Regions from separate parts of the Homo sapiens genome. Here regions 1 and 2 are each linked to region 3. The links are contacts of gene promoters, found by promoter capture Hi-C in blood cells and fetal thymus (Javierre and others, 2016). All regions are on one chromosome and are shown on one strand. Each heading gives the region's core, a stretch centred on a gene start or on the middle of the fragment in contact. The rest is flanking DNA. Distances are from core to core; before and after follow the strand shown.

The links. The method cuts DNA at HindIII sites, captures the fragments that hold promoters and counts their contacts. A CHiCAGO score of 5 or more calls a contact.
Region 1: the fragment with the promoter of B4GALT4-AS1 here is called in contact with the fragment with the promoter of NR1I2 in region 3 in 8 of 17 cell types (naive B cells, erythroblasts, total B cells and 5 more); the score reaches 12.7 in naive B cells.
Region 2: a contact is called between the fragment with the promoter of UPK1B here and the fragment with the promoter of NR1I2 in region 3, in 4 of 17 cell types (monocytes, total CD4 T cells, total B cells and 1 more). The highest score is 8.1, in monocytes.

The regions. Positions count from the first base shown.
Region 1 is chr3:119,224,112-119,229,209 of GRCh38, forward strand. B4GALT4-AS1 (B4GALT4 antisense RNA 1) reads left to right here and starts at 2,375. Exons shown (of 4, transcript NR_046574.1): 1 at 2,375-2,570. B4GALT4 (beta-1,4-galactosyltransferase 4) reads right to left here. Exons shown (of 8, transcript NM_003778.4): 4 at 2,698-2,930; 5 at 1-134. RefSeq lists a silencer at 1,177-1,349. The HindIII fragment of the contact is 1,940 bases long and covers 884-2,823 here.
Region 2 is chr3:119,171,021-119,176,152 of GRCh38, forward strand. It overlaps UPK1B (uroplakin 1B), which reads left to right and starts at 2,578. Exons shown (of 8, transcript NM_006952.4): 1 at 2,578-2,618. The HindIII fragment of the contact is 9,656 bases long and covers 39-5,132 here.
Region 3 is chr3:119,779,541-119,783,916 of GRCh38, forward strand. It overlaps NR1I2 (nuclear receptor subfamily 1 group I member 2), which reads left to right and starts at 2,561. Exons shown (of 9, transcript NM_003889.4): 1 at 2,561-2,760. The HindIII fragment of the contact is 6,406 bases long and covers 1-3,761 here.

The DNA.
Region 1 (5,098 bases), core at 1,125-3,624, 560 kb before region 3:
TTGTAAAGGTTAAAGTCATTCTCGGGTACCAGGTCCACATCGTGGAATATAAAGCAGTCCCAATTTTCTTCCTTGAGGGCTTCTAGATAGCCCACATTCAAGAGTTTGGCTCGATTAAACTTTTTACCTTCAGCCTAGAGATATGAAAATTAAAACTTGAAAAGCTCCTGAGATAAAGTTTCATATTGTTTGCCTCTTAGTTAGGATTCAGGAGATGGTATTATTCTAATTATTCTACGCACGAGACTACACTTGTGACATAAAGATCTGACAGAGAAGATGCAATGACAATAAAAGACCATTTGATTTTTTTCTTCGTGCTTCACACATACTTATATTCCAGAACTTAGAAACAGTCCTTGAAATCCAAAGACTTGTTGTTTAATGATAGAGAGTTCCAGTTTTGCAAGATTAAGTTCTGGAGATTGATTTCATAAATACACTGCATATATTTATGCAACCAATATATTGCATAATTATGCATAGATACATTGCATGTAAATATTCTTAACATTACTAAACTGCACACTCAATAATAGTTAAGATAGCAAAAATTTTAAAAAGTTAAAAAAAGTTAAGATGGTAAATTTTACATCGTGTGTTTCACAATTAAAAATTTTTTAAAAGCAGCTTTAAAATACAAATAACTCAAATAATCAATAATAATGTACACTTAAAATGTATTGAGTATAGCTCTCATGTTAAATATTCTTACCACAGTTAACAAAAAAAAATTTTCTCTTAAAATTTTACAAATACCTTTACGTATTCTGTATAAAACTACAAAACCTTTCTTATATACTAGTCATGTCAATTAGTATTACTGCTTCACAGTTCAACCCTAGGTAATCCCAATCTTACCCTCTGTTATGAATTTACACTAAGCTTCTAAGAGACTTAGTTAATAGCTTGCCAGAAAGGATCAAGAAATCTCAACCTATAGAAAGAGAAAGTTATTGCTAATATTTCTAAGCTACTTTAAAGTTTCTCAGAAATCCCTGTAAGAGAATCCTGTTATAATGCTACTGGTGGAGGCTAATCCTCACAGTGGCCTTATGGAGGTAGATTCGTCACTGGGCAATAAAAGAACACAGTTTGACCTGTAATATGATTGAAGCTGTAATAAAAAAATTAAATAATTTTTTCATGGCTGCTTCATTCAAATTCCTTCAGAATGAATTCCAGTTAAGTGGTTTATCATAAAAGTGCAAGTATTTCTCAGAAGTTACCACAATGTTTTCCTGATAAGAATAACACGAAGCAGACATATTTTTCTCTTTCTCTTTTTCTTTTTTTTTAATTTGAGATGGAATCTCGCTCTGTTGCCCAGGCTGGAGTGCAGTGGTGTGATCTTACCTCACTGCAGCCTCCACCTCCTGGGTTCAAGTGATTCTCCTGCCTCAGCCTCCTGGGTAGCTGGGACTACAGGCATGTGCCACCACACCCAACTAATTTTTTTTTTTTTTTTAGTATTTTAACAGAGTATTTTGTATTTTTAGTAGAGACAGGGTTTCACTATGCTGGCCAGGCTAGTCTCAAACTCCTATCCTCAAGTGATCCACCCACCTTGGCCTCCCAAAGTGCTGAGCCACCGGGCCTGGCCCAAAGCAAACATGTTTTTCTATTCATAAAAATAGTACTATACCTTGTAGGTTACTGTCCTGAGCAAGAACTCAGAATCAAATAAATCATAACTATGACCAACAACCTTAAAAACAAAAATAGCTATAAAACAATATAATAGTAACATTTTGTTCCAAGTACTAAAATACAGACATAGGTGTGCTATATAAGCACACTGATTTTCAAGAGCCTCAGTTTATCACCAAGTCTATACTGCAGAGCTGGTCCTCTGAGTTGTCCAAAGTTTTATCTAAAAGAAATATTACCTGTTCTAACAGTAGTGATGATTTTGCTGACATTCTTAGAATTTATAAGAATTTGAGGGGGAATTATCCCTCTTCTTGGCCTCCTTGGATGGCCAAGGATAACTGTGAAAAGTTTAGACACTGATGTTTAAACTGATGTCTTAGTTTTCTTTCAATAAACTTTAATGCCAAATAGAGGTATCTTTAATCATCCACTCCACTGACCTCAGAGGTAAGCTCTTCAAAAGCAGCCGATAGTTATGCTGTGCTCCTACCAAATCATGCTTCTGGAAGTCAAATAGATGAATCCAGAAAGTGAAAATCAAACATAATATGTTTCACATAATAAATAGTGGCAAAGTTCAGGGCAGAAATGTGGTGGCAGCCATAGAGCACCACAGCTACTAATACAGAATGTTCTTTCAAATCCTCTGTCTAGATCCCCATTGAGTTGCTATGGTTGATAATGACAGACAATTCCAGAATCTCATCATATAGTGCATGGCACGCACAGAAAGAAACAGAAGGGGCCAGGAAGCCTCCGGGGAAATCTGAGGGCAGTCATTGGCTAACATGGAAGGGCTCACAAAACAGGCTTCCTCCAGAGGTTCCTTTAAGGGCAGTAAAATTTCCCAGAACTTGAACCCATAACTCCACACTCTGAGACAAGAATTTCCTCTACTCCTTTCAAGGATAAATGAGGTAAGAGAACTCGTTTTTGATGATAGTCTGATGTTCCTTTTACCCAACATAGACAAACAGTCACATGGCCAAGTCTGGCAGAGAAGAGGAGGGTCGAGGGCAGGCCCTGGTCTGCCCCCACGCTCACCTGGTGGATGACGTAGATGCCATAATCCAGCTGCTGCCTCTGCAGGAAGGGATGCAGATGTTCCAGCAGGTACATCAGGTGTTTCTCTCTGTTCCGGTGGGGAACGAGGATGGCGACCCTCTGTAAAGCTTTACATTCCTGAGGGCGATACCGGCCTCTGGACACTTTGGGATTTTCTGCCTGTACCTCTTCCAAAGTGAGATCTGGTTTGAAAATGAGCTTGCTCTGGCCTCCTACAATGAACATAGGACACAGACAATAACAGTAGCTACTTCAAAAAGTGTTGAGGTTTACACGAGCTAATATGCATAGAAAGAACACTGCCCAGCTCACAGTGAGTACTACAAATGTCAGCTTTTATTATGATTACTTTAAAGGCTCATTTAGTCATGATAATGGCCAGAGCATCATGTCACTAAGGTTACTGGCTGCAAAAGCAAGTGGTGGATATATAATATAAGCATTTCCTTGTGGCTGGGTAATCAACTTGCTCTATGATCCATCTGTAAGAGGGAATATCCTGGTGAACTCTGGTAAGAGCAAAGGGCAGGGCTAGACAGAGTAACTTCAACTTTGGTCTATCCTCTTTTCCTTCACCAAATTCCAGGAGGAGGGGAAAATCTCTTAAATATCAACAGCATTCCACAGAATCAAGCTCCTGGACAAGGCACTCTTCCCACCCCTTCCCTAAACTCTGGAACCACCCTGGCTCCCTGTAAGCAAAGCACTAAAAAGAAGTAGAAACCAGTCTCCCTCCCTAACCCAGCTGTAACAGGTATGTGTGGCACTGCAACAACTCTCCCATTTTGCCACCACAACAGACGTTTCCAATCGAGCACAGTATTTGCTCAGTGTCTGGAAGCAATCCAAACAGATGAAACCCAAAGCCATCCACAGGAGGAAAACAGCTCAGGTTTTTTTGTTTGTTTGTTTCTAAATTCCACGTATACTGGTCAGGCTGTAAAATCTCAAGATGCTTGCAAATTGAGCTATCCCCTTCTGAGTAAAGCAGTCATAGGCCCTTCCTGTGCGAAAGTCGCCATGACTTGTTCCATGTAACCATCCCCTACCCTGGCCATGGCTGCTTAGACCAGGCTCACGTGTCTAATGGCACCTTGGTGCTCTGCTCAACAGCAGGCAAGGTAAGTAACTTCTTCAAGCCACCCAAAGAGAATAATTGGCCTACGAGAGCCTTCCTGCAGGGTCTACATGCAAGACACAGCAGTCAGTAATGCCCTAAAAACAAACAGTAAGGAATGGAGTTACACAGATGACAACTACTAGAGCTGATGCTGGGCTATCGAGCTACCAGAGATAATGGGGTAGCTGTTGAGATGGTCTCCTGTGTGGCCTGTTCACAATCCCCATCGTTAACCTGACTGTGTCTCTGTTCTTGCGCGCTCAAAGAGCCTCACGCAACAGGTCTAATATAAACTAGTCCCCCGGCTCACCTTCTCATCGTCATAACTTTTTACGTGCCCTAACCTAGTATCTGCTTCCACTTACTCTCTATCAGTCTCCCTATCACTCCCCCTACCCCAACATCTTCTCAAGATCTGCCCCTCCTTGGGTCACTAATGGCCCATTTTAAGTCATCACCAACCACATCACCTTTAGTCCAGTACTTGCCCAGTAATGCATCACTGTCCCTCTATTCTTTATGAATGAATTTACTGTTTAAATATACTGTGAGCATTTTAAGCAAGGGGAATAATCAGCCAGTAAAATTTGCATTTCCCTGACTCATTTTTACATCGCAGCTTGTATAATCTGTGAAGGAATACACAATCAGGAATAACACTTTGACTCTTCCATGACTAAAGAGAAGCAGCATGCCAATATGAATACAATACAGGACTGTGACTCAACTAGGAAAGGGGTACACAGACTGAATGTCTGTGTCCCCAAAAATTCATATGTTGAATTCCTAATGCCCACTGTGGGGCCTCTGGGAAGTAACTAGGTTTAGATGAGATCATCATAAGGGTGGAGCTGCCAGGTGGGATTAAAGCACTTATAAAAAGAGCAAGAGGCATGAGATCTATCTATCTCTGTCTTTCTCTCTCCCTCTCTCTTTCCCTTTCCCCCTGCATGTATGTGTGTGCGCACACACACCAAGGAAAGGCATGTGAGGACAATATCCAGTAAGAGGGCCCTGACCATGCTGGCACCCTGATCTTAAGACTAATTTACTGTTTAACATAAGTTGAGAGGCAAGACATAAAAGGTGAACCAAAACATACAACATATTTAAGAAATAAACACTAAAGACCACATTGAAAAACTTACCTAGTCTCTGTCCCTTGACTCCATAGTTTTGGCCAAAGGAATACAACAGATGTGACCCCACTGAGGCTTGAATGTGCTTGCATTTCTCCTCTCATGCTCTGGTGCTCTGCTG
Region 2 (5,132 bases), core at 1,328-3,827, 610 kb before region 3:
CCTGCTAACTTGCCTTGGAACTACCACAGAGAAGGAAAAGCTTTGGAGGGTGATGGTGCAGTGGTATGGCCCGACAGAGAAGGGGACAAGCATGCCACCTTTAGTTCTAGGTTCCTGAGATGTGCAGAAGGTAGAACCCAGCCACCTGAGAACTGGGGTCCTGGAGGGTAGGTGAGATTGAAGGACAAAGACTGACTGCAAACCAATGAATGAGGCAGAGCACCCTCTGAGGCTTAGGAACTCGTGGGGTTCAGTAGGGCTCTCCTCGGCCAGCCCTGTGCACTGCCCTTGTCTACACTGCTGCTGGTGGTGGTGAACTAGACAGTGGGGATGGCCAACAGAAAGGGATAGAGCCTCTCTCTGGCCACTCACACAGGACGACATCATTTCCCTCTCAAATGAACATACACAGGGAGTTGGGGGGTTATTAAAGACCTCAACTTCTCCCCAAAACTACTGGAGTCTGTAGTTTGAATTGTGGTGATAGGAAGAAAATATCTAAGTGTTTCTAACAGAAGTGAGATATTAGTAATGAGAATTCACTGATGAGCTTGGAATCAGGTTAAGATGTGGGTAAGGGAGCCACCTAGCCAGAGAGAAAGGAAGATTAGCAGAAGAGAGTTAGAAATAAATTAACTGGAAAAAAATAAGCCTGTCATACATTAACGACTTGACGTTCCTCAACTATTCAGTTGCAGTTATTATCTGAAAACTAATCTTCCTTTTCCTAGCTAGTCTCTTGTCTCTTGTTATTGGGTTTGTGTTCACATTATCTATTTTGAAGATTTTCAAATCTTTTTGTTTTCTCCCCATATAATCATGGTAATGGAACATAAAATGCCTAAGACATGAATGAAAATTCACATGTCCTTGTTTGCTTCCTTGCTACTTTATCACAAATATTTCCAGGACAGCACATGTTTTTAATAACTTGTACGTTCTTATAATTATAATATAGATCCTTTGTAAACATATGAACTGCAAAAATAGAAGACTGTAAAAGTCACCCATATTTTACCATTCAGATATATTCTGGTTAATGTTTGCTGTATACTATTTCTAACTTTTTAAGTCATAGGTAAACTTTCTTAAAAATTAAAATGTGTCAGATTACACAAACTATTTTGTAAACCGCTTTTTCATTTTCAGCCTCTAGAAGAGTGCCTGGCACATCCTAAGTTTTCAATAAATATTTGTCAAATAAATGACTGAACTTATTTCCATACCATTAAATGTTTATCTGTGGTGTCATTTTTAACCATTGCACAGAATTCTATTGTGTGAAATATGATAATTTATCTAACAAGGCCCTGAAGAGCTGCAGAGGAATAAGGCCTTGTGATGGACACAGAGGTGCTCCATGCAGTCCCCCTTGAAGTGGGAGGTTGCCCTGCTGCTGGGAGTACTTGCAACCTCCAGCCTCCAGTTATCAGCCCCTTTCAGGACTTGCCTCAGCTACAGAAAGCTGCCTTCCCAGGGTAATCCACATTGAAGGGCAGATCATAGAGGAGCCCAGTGTCAGAGCTACTCTGACAGGCCATCTTCCTCCAGAGTTTCCTGAGGAGGGCTGCTTAAGACTGTCCCATCTATATTGCAGCTCAACTTCTTCCTCTGCCCAGTCCTGTTTCTCCCCTCTCCCTGCCATGGGTGTTAATCTCAGGGCACTGTCTAATAAATATATTGCACACTAAATTTTGTCTCAAAGTCTGCTCCTGAACAACCTAACCTGCAACAGAGATGATGCTGACCTTTGAGGAACTCCCAAGTCTATTGGTAAAAGCACTCAGTAAATTCTAACATTACTGCAGTTACCGATTCCTAACTCAGGTTAAACAAGCGATGGCGCATGTATACCATGATAGGTTATGCAGCCATTAAAATAATGTTCTGGGTGCCATGTATAACACATGATGGCTCCAGAAGTCAGGGAAGAAGGAAAAAAGAAGGGAAGGGAAGAGAAGAGAAAGGGAGGGAAGAAGAGGGGAGGGAAGAATTGGACATCAGATAATCACTTGAGCCCTCTCTCTCCGTGAATTTTTCCCAATCTGTTTCTTTCCACATCTCTTGCTCCTTATCAGTCTTTGGGCCACCTACAGTATGAGCATTACTTGGGCAATTACTGTCTCTCTGAATTTGGCATATGCAAATTATAGAAACTAAAACTGGACATGGCCCTACACAGGTAAGCACATATCAGCATCGCTGTGAGCGGTCAGGACTAACAAGCCTTCAACACACAAAAGCAGGAGTAAGGATCAAATTACACAAATCAAATCAAATCAAATCAAAATAAAATCCCTGAGTTTGTATTCCAGTAAAGCCCAAACCTAGGAGGGATCCAGGAAAGCGATGAGTGTGGCTGTCAAGGTGCTTCCATCTGTCAGAGTCACACATTCCAAAGCAGCAGAAATCAACTGACAGCCTCCGGTTACTCCCCCGCCTCAGCGAGGCAGGGCAGGCAGCGGAAAGCTCAGCCCATGTGAGGTGCCTCCTGCCAATCACAGACTACCCTTCCCTGGTCCTGGAGGTTCAAAGAATTGCAGGAGGGTAGAAAAGCACCTGGGTCGGGTGCAGACTGCGGAGCGGGCCCTACCGTGTGCGCAGAAAGAGGAGGCGCTGTGAGTAGACCGCTTTCCCTCTGCAGGGAATCTCCCGGGCTCAAGGGCTGGGTTGCTCTCCTGGGAGGGAAGCTAGCAGACTGGGAGGGAAAGGGGAAGAAGTTAGATTCTTGATTCATAAAGTCTGTCATTTTTTTCTTTGTAATTTAGGGTATTGTGACTGTCCTGTTCTCTTTTACTTTGAACCGTTGGAATTGCTTTCTTAATACCCTTGATATAAGTCTTGTTCTCATTAAACTTCTGGAGATATTACGCAGCCATCCTGCTTTCAACCTCAGATATCCCCACAGAAAGAACAAGAAAATCCAAGCACCCCGAGAAACCCTATATCTCCTGATTAAATCGCACATAGACAGTCACCTTTGTAGACCCCCAATTTCCTTGTGGAGTCAGAAAAGCAATAGAAAGTTTAACGAAATAGCTCGTGTTATTTCTTAATAATCTGTTCAGGCTAGCAGAGAGAAAGTTTCTTGGTCTTCTTGTCAGAAATCATTTGGTCCTGCCAACCTGTAATGAAATGTGTGAAGCAATTTACTCCCAGTTATTCTCTGCAAACACTTCTGCTTAATAAATGTGTCAGTTGAAGTAAGTCAACAAAGTAGCTTTATCTACGCAATGTTATTTTTACATAATTTGTTTTTACTCCTTACCAATTCTTTGCTCCACCATGATCTGCAGGACATAAAGATATTTTTCATTCTGATCACATTTTCACACAAAATACAAATTTAAGTTTCAAATAATGCTAGTATTATTTTATGTTTGCATTTGTTTATAAACCTAAAACTCCACTTCTAACTAGTTTTAAAGATTTTTAAGCCATTTAAGAATTCGTAGCCAGTCACAGTGGCACATGCCTGCAGTTCCAGCTATTCGGGAAGCTGAGGCCACGTGATCAGGAGTTCTAGTCCAGGCTGGGCAACATAGTGAGATCCTGTCTCTAAAAAAAATAAAAATAAATTTTTAAAGAAGTTTTGTTAACTTGAATGTCTTCTTTTAATGAAAGACAACGTTTCTTGAACATTTCTTGCCTGAGTTGCTAAGCACAACAGGAAAGAACTCATTAGGTTTTATAGATATACATACTTTGAGTATAAACAAAATTTAGGTTACATAGTTTTCAGACCCTATGAAGAAGTGGATTTTCTTTTTATTAACCTTCTCAGTGAGGAGAAAAATTTCTTACTTTGCTTTCTGCTCCAACAGATTGTTTTGCTTTCTGCTATAAAATAGTCTTTAAAATCAACTCACCTATTTTTTTTTTTTTTAACTGCTGGGAAGAATCATAGACTTTTACATCCAAAGGGGACCTTAGACATCATTTAATCAAGGGGAAAAAAAAGAAACTCAGAACTTTTTTTTTCTTTTATTTTCTTTTTTTTTTTTTTTTTTTTTTTTTTTTTTTTTTTGAGACGGAGTCACTCTGAGGCCCAGGCTGGAGTGCAGTGGCGTGATCTCTGCTCACTGCAAGCTCTGCCTCCCGGGTAGATGCCATTCTCCTGCCTCAGCCTCCCGAGTAGCTGGGACTACAGGTGTCTGCCACCACGCCCGGCCAATTTTTTGTATTTTTAGTAGAGACGGGGTTTCACCGTGTTAGCCAAGATGGTCTCAATCTCCTGACCTCGTGATCCATCCACCTCAGCCTCCCAAAGTGCTGAGATTACAGGCTTGAGCCACCGCACCCGGCCAAAACTCAGAACTTCTTTTTGACTTCTCCTGCTTACAATCTTAACCAGAGTAAACACCAGCCAGCCTTTAAATATGCTCTGGAATTTGTGCCTGATAGCCATGCAGGCTGCCCACAAACTTGATGGGCCACCATTCACCAACTGGGACAGAGACCACATTGGTGAGGGGGCACCATCATCACACACCGCCCTACCCGCCTGCCCACCCCCTCCCCCCCGCCCCAAGGACTCTCCATAGTACTCCTGCCCTGGAGCTGGGCATCTCTCTGGCAATGCCCACACCTGAGGCCCTCGTGCAACTGAGTGCTCCTGAGCCATTGCTTACAGCTAGTCCCTGATTTCCAATGGGTGGATGACTCCCATCATACTGGGAGCACCAGGAATCAAGAGCAGTGCTGTCCAGTAAAACTTTCTGTGATGAGGGAAATGTTCTAGATAATAGACACTAACCACATGTATCTAGGGAGTGCTTGAGATGTGGTTGGAGCAACTGAGGAACTGATTTTTACTTTTATTTAATTGAATTCTTTTGACTTTAAATAACTGCATGCAACTACTAACTACTGTATTAGTCAACACAGGTTTAGAGCTTTAAAGCAAGAAAAACTTATGGGCACTGTGAGCCATGGGTGACAGCCCTGGGAGAAACCTCCTCTTTTTGTTATTTCCAGGGACTTATCCTACCTTAAGTTGAAGCAGACCAGCAATTGTTGTGACCTACAATCTCCACACCCATCTTTACTCTGAGCCAAGGAAGTGTCTGTTCTTGTGCTGAGTTTCAGGGTGAGGGCTAAGGCAATCGCATATTGTGTTTCTTTGTTTCTTC
Region 3 (4,376 bases), core at 1,311-3,810:
GTACAATGGCTTATGCCTGTAATTTCAGCAATTTGGGAGGCCAAGGCAGACAGATTGCTTGAGCCCCAGAGTTTGAGACCAGCTTGGGCAACATAATGAGACCTCGTCTCTACAAAAGAAAAACAAAAAAAAAAATTAGCCAAGCATGGTGGCACACACCTGTAGTCTCAGGTATTTGGGATGCTGAGGTGGGAGGATTGCTTTAGCCCAGGAGGTTGAGGCTGCAGTGAGCCATGACCATGCCACTGCACTCCAGCCTGGGTGACACAGCAAAACACTGTCTCAAAAAAAAAAAAGAAACTCTTCAGGCTGATCAGATCTGCTTTTCTCTGATGAGTTTCTTAGGAGCTCTACATTTCTGGTTGCTGCAATAGGCAAAGTATAGAATGGAGGTCAAGGCCTCAAATTTCTCTGACTTCCCAGCTGGGCTTGAGAGTGACTCTGGCCCTCAACTGAGGGCATTAGTAAGCTGTCCTTAAGAACGAGAGTGTATTTTCTGGCTGTATTCTTAACTCATTTCACTATAGAGCCATGTCTGATATTAACAGTGCAGTGCTAGACTAGAGAGGCCTGGCACTCCTACAGCCTTCTCCTGTCTTCTAGCTGGGACTTCACACCACAGACCCAAAGGAAAAGAGACCCAAAGATCCCTGCAGAAACCTGAGAATATTTCCTTTACCTCAGTGGTTTCATAATCTGTTCTTAGTTTCCTGTTTCTGCTGTAAATAATTCACTATATTTTTAAGAGAGAGAAGGTCAGGCCCTTGTGAGCCAGAAGGGATTTGAGAGATGATGAAAGCTACGTATGTTACCCATAACCTAAGGACTTCTGGCAAGGTGGCCTACCTGAGCTGGAGTCATGCCTTTTTTCCCTGGACTTGGAGATACCTGTCAGTGCAGAAAGGCCTACTTTTGATCTTGGAAATAAGTTTCCTGGGGTGAGTTCTTAACCCTTTCCAGCTTTCCCACCCTCTTTGGCTTTAGCCATGGCCTTCTGATCTGTGTTTCTCAGGGGACCTGCAGGCCCCAGATATAGCCCCATGCTGTCCTCCTACCCCAGAGCACACTGTTCAGGCTACTTCCACTGGTACTGAAATCCAGTATTTCACTTACTCTTTTTCTTTCCAATATCCTCATGACATTCAATATTTCACTTACTCTAGGTCCTCCCTGCCTAAGGCCCAAGTCAACTTTCTGTCCAGTGGGATTTGTAATCCAATACCTCCTAGCCCTAGCAGAATCCCATGTGGATAATCAGAAATGTGACTGGAAAAAGGACAGAGCTCTATGGCTGTGGGTCCCAGTCCCCACTGCTGGCAGTAAGTCCCCAGCAGTGAGCTGTGTAAGCACCTTACATTCTGCGCTTGGTTGAAAACAGCAAGGCAAGCATCCACTTGAGAAATGTCAACCCCTAGGAAATCCCAGCCTCAAGTCTTTCTCATCCCTTGGGAAGTGCAAATTGGATAGAGAAGAAACCAATTAAAAACAAAACAAACAAATCATACTTAGATATTCTGGCTTTTCTCACCAGGGCTGGATTAAAGCATGTACTTCAAAATAATAACAACTTAAGTCAATAAATAAATGTAAGGAAGTCCAAATGTTCACCTGAAGACAACTGTGGTCATTTTTTGGCAATCCCAGGTTCTCTTTTCTACCTGTTTGCTCAATCGTGGTCTCCCTCTCCCTCTCTTGTTGGGGCCCATGCCCCTGCTTTACTGTTGCCAGAGGCTTGTACTTGTTTGCCTTTTAGGTAGGAGCAGTTACTTCCACTCCCCTCACCTGCCATAAAGCATCTTTATAAACAAAGCAAGTAGAAGAAACACATCCTGGTATCCACCACATTCGGCTTTTGTTGATTCTGTTCACTTGGGAGCACCTGCTGCTAGGGAATAAGAAGGTTGAGGCTGAAGAGTGAGGACTCTTCAGCTCCCCTCTGGCAGGACCCGGGAGAGGAAAGAGCCCTCAGCTGGTCCATCCTCCCCACTCCTGGTCAGCCTTCTGTTCTGAGATCAAAGTGGTGGGGTCACATTCTCGAGAACTGTGCTCAGCCCCCTCATCTCACACCCTTTCCCTCTCCCTGTGTGCCTGCCCCCCTCTTACATAACCATGCTGGTGATTGGCACCGTCATAAATCAATACTTTGCTCACTTTCACATCAAGTAACACTATCCAGGGAGGTGGTTTCAACAAAGGAGGAAGTATAAGGAGATCTAGGTTCAAATTAATGTTGCCCCTAGTGGTAAAGGACAGAGACCCTCAGACTGATGAAATGCACTCAGAATTACTTAGACAAAGCGGATATTTGCCACTCTCTTCCCCTTTTCCTGTGTTTTTGTAGTGAAGAGACCTGAAAGAAAAAAGTAGGGAGAACATAATGAGAACAAATACGGTAATCTCTTCATTTGCTAGTTCAAGTGCTGGACTTGGGACTTAGGAGGGGCAATGGAGCCGCTTAGTGCCTACATCTGACTTGGACTGAAATATAGGTGAGAGACAAGATTGTCTCATATCCGGGGAAATCATAACCTATGACTAGGACGGGAAGAGGAAGCACTGCCTTTACTTCAGTGGGAATCTCGGCCTCAGCCTGCAAGCCAAGTGTTCACAGTGAGAAAAGCAAGAGAATAAGCTAATACTCCTGTCCTGAACAAGGCAGCGGCTCCTTGGTAAAGCTACTCCTTGATCGATCCTTTGCACCGGATTGTTCAAAGTGGACCCCAGGGGAGAAGTCGGAGCAAAGAACTTACCACCAAGCAGGTATGGTTTTTCTTTCTTTCTCTTTTGCTGGGGGCTGACCGCCCTTCAGCTCCAGCCAAAAGATGTGTGTGAACACAAATATACCTTCTGTTTGAGGTCAGCATCATAGTGGGTCGTGAATCATGTTGGCCTTGCTGCTGTCTCCTCATTTCTAGGGTGGAAAAAAAAAAGCATGAAAACAATCACTTAATGTTGAGCCCCATTACTGATGCTCTCTGGTCCTGCACTAGCCTCCTAGAAAAATCACCACAGGAGAAGCCTTAACTACTGCATGAGTTACCACAAGTCACACATACAACCAGCTCCCTGTTACAGGGCTGGAGTCCCTGGACCCAGGAAATACCACCTCCAAGGACTGTGGGAGCTGGGGACTATGGGAACTGGGATCAACTCAGTCCTGATTCCTTTTGGCCTGCTGGGTTAGTGCTGGCAGCCCCCTGAGGCCAAGGACAGCAGCATGACAGTCACCAGGACTCACCACTTCAAGGAGGGGTCCCTCAGAGCACCTGCCATACCCCTGCACAGTGCTGCGGCTGAGTTGGCTTCAAACCAGTGAGTTTTCTACCTCTACTATTGAAAGGGCACCTTGTCCCACAGAACCGAGTCTTGCCTGCATGTGGTCAGTGCCACCAGGTCCTTCTTCTCTCCACTTTACAGCCCAGCTCGGCTGAAGCTATGGCCAGAGGCACTGCTTTAAGGCCACTCCATATCTAGGACAGGTCAACAGACACCTCTGAGGCCACTGAGTCTTGACTCAATGAATCAGCTATAGCAGGCACTATTCCTCTCCCACATGGCCTCTAATGATATGGTCAGAGTTGAAAGGATGCTAAGGGAGGCCTCAGAGGCTTATTTAATCAGTTGGTTAATGGGAAAAAGTATTTTGTGGTACACAAATACGCTTTAAAAATATTTTAGTTATGTCATAAAAGTCTAAACCTGGGGTTGACAAACTATGGCTCACAGGCTAACTCTGGCCCACCAGCTGTTTTTATAAATGAAGCTTTATTGGAACACAGCCATGCCCATTCGTTATGTATTGTATATGGCTGTTTTTGCCCTACAACATCCTTTCAACTCTGGCCATATCATTAGAGGCCATGTGGGAGAGGAATAGTGCCTGCTATAGCTGATTCATTGAGTCAGCAAAATTGACCAATTGCGAAAGAGACAGTATGGCCCACAAAGCCTAAAATATTAACTATCTGGCCTTTAACAGAAAAAGTTTGCCAACTCCTGATCTAAAAGCTGTCAACTTGTTCCAAAATTATTATGGAATAAACCCAAGACAACCACAAAACTGACTAGACTAGGTTTTTTAGGTAATAACTTTTTAAATTATAAAGTAATACATGATTTCATGCTCCTTGAAAATGAGAAAGCAGTATAGATAAACCTAAATTCACCTTTGGCCATTCTGTCAATCCTAATCTCCAGTTTCCCCAAAAGTACTTAGTGTGATATATTTACTGCCAGACCATTGTGTCTGTGTGTGTGTTCATCTATGCATAGATGGACTATTAAACCTATCTGTTGCCATGTTGTTCTAATTCTGTTTTTCCACTCAATAGCAAGACTTGGAGACTTTCCATATCTGTATAGAGCTCTACTTCATT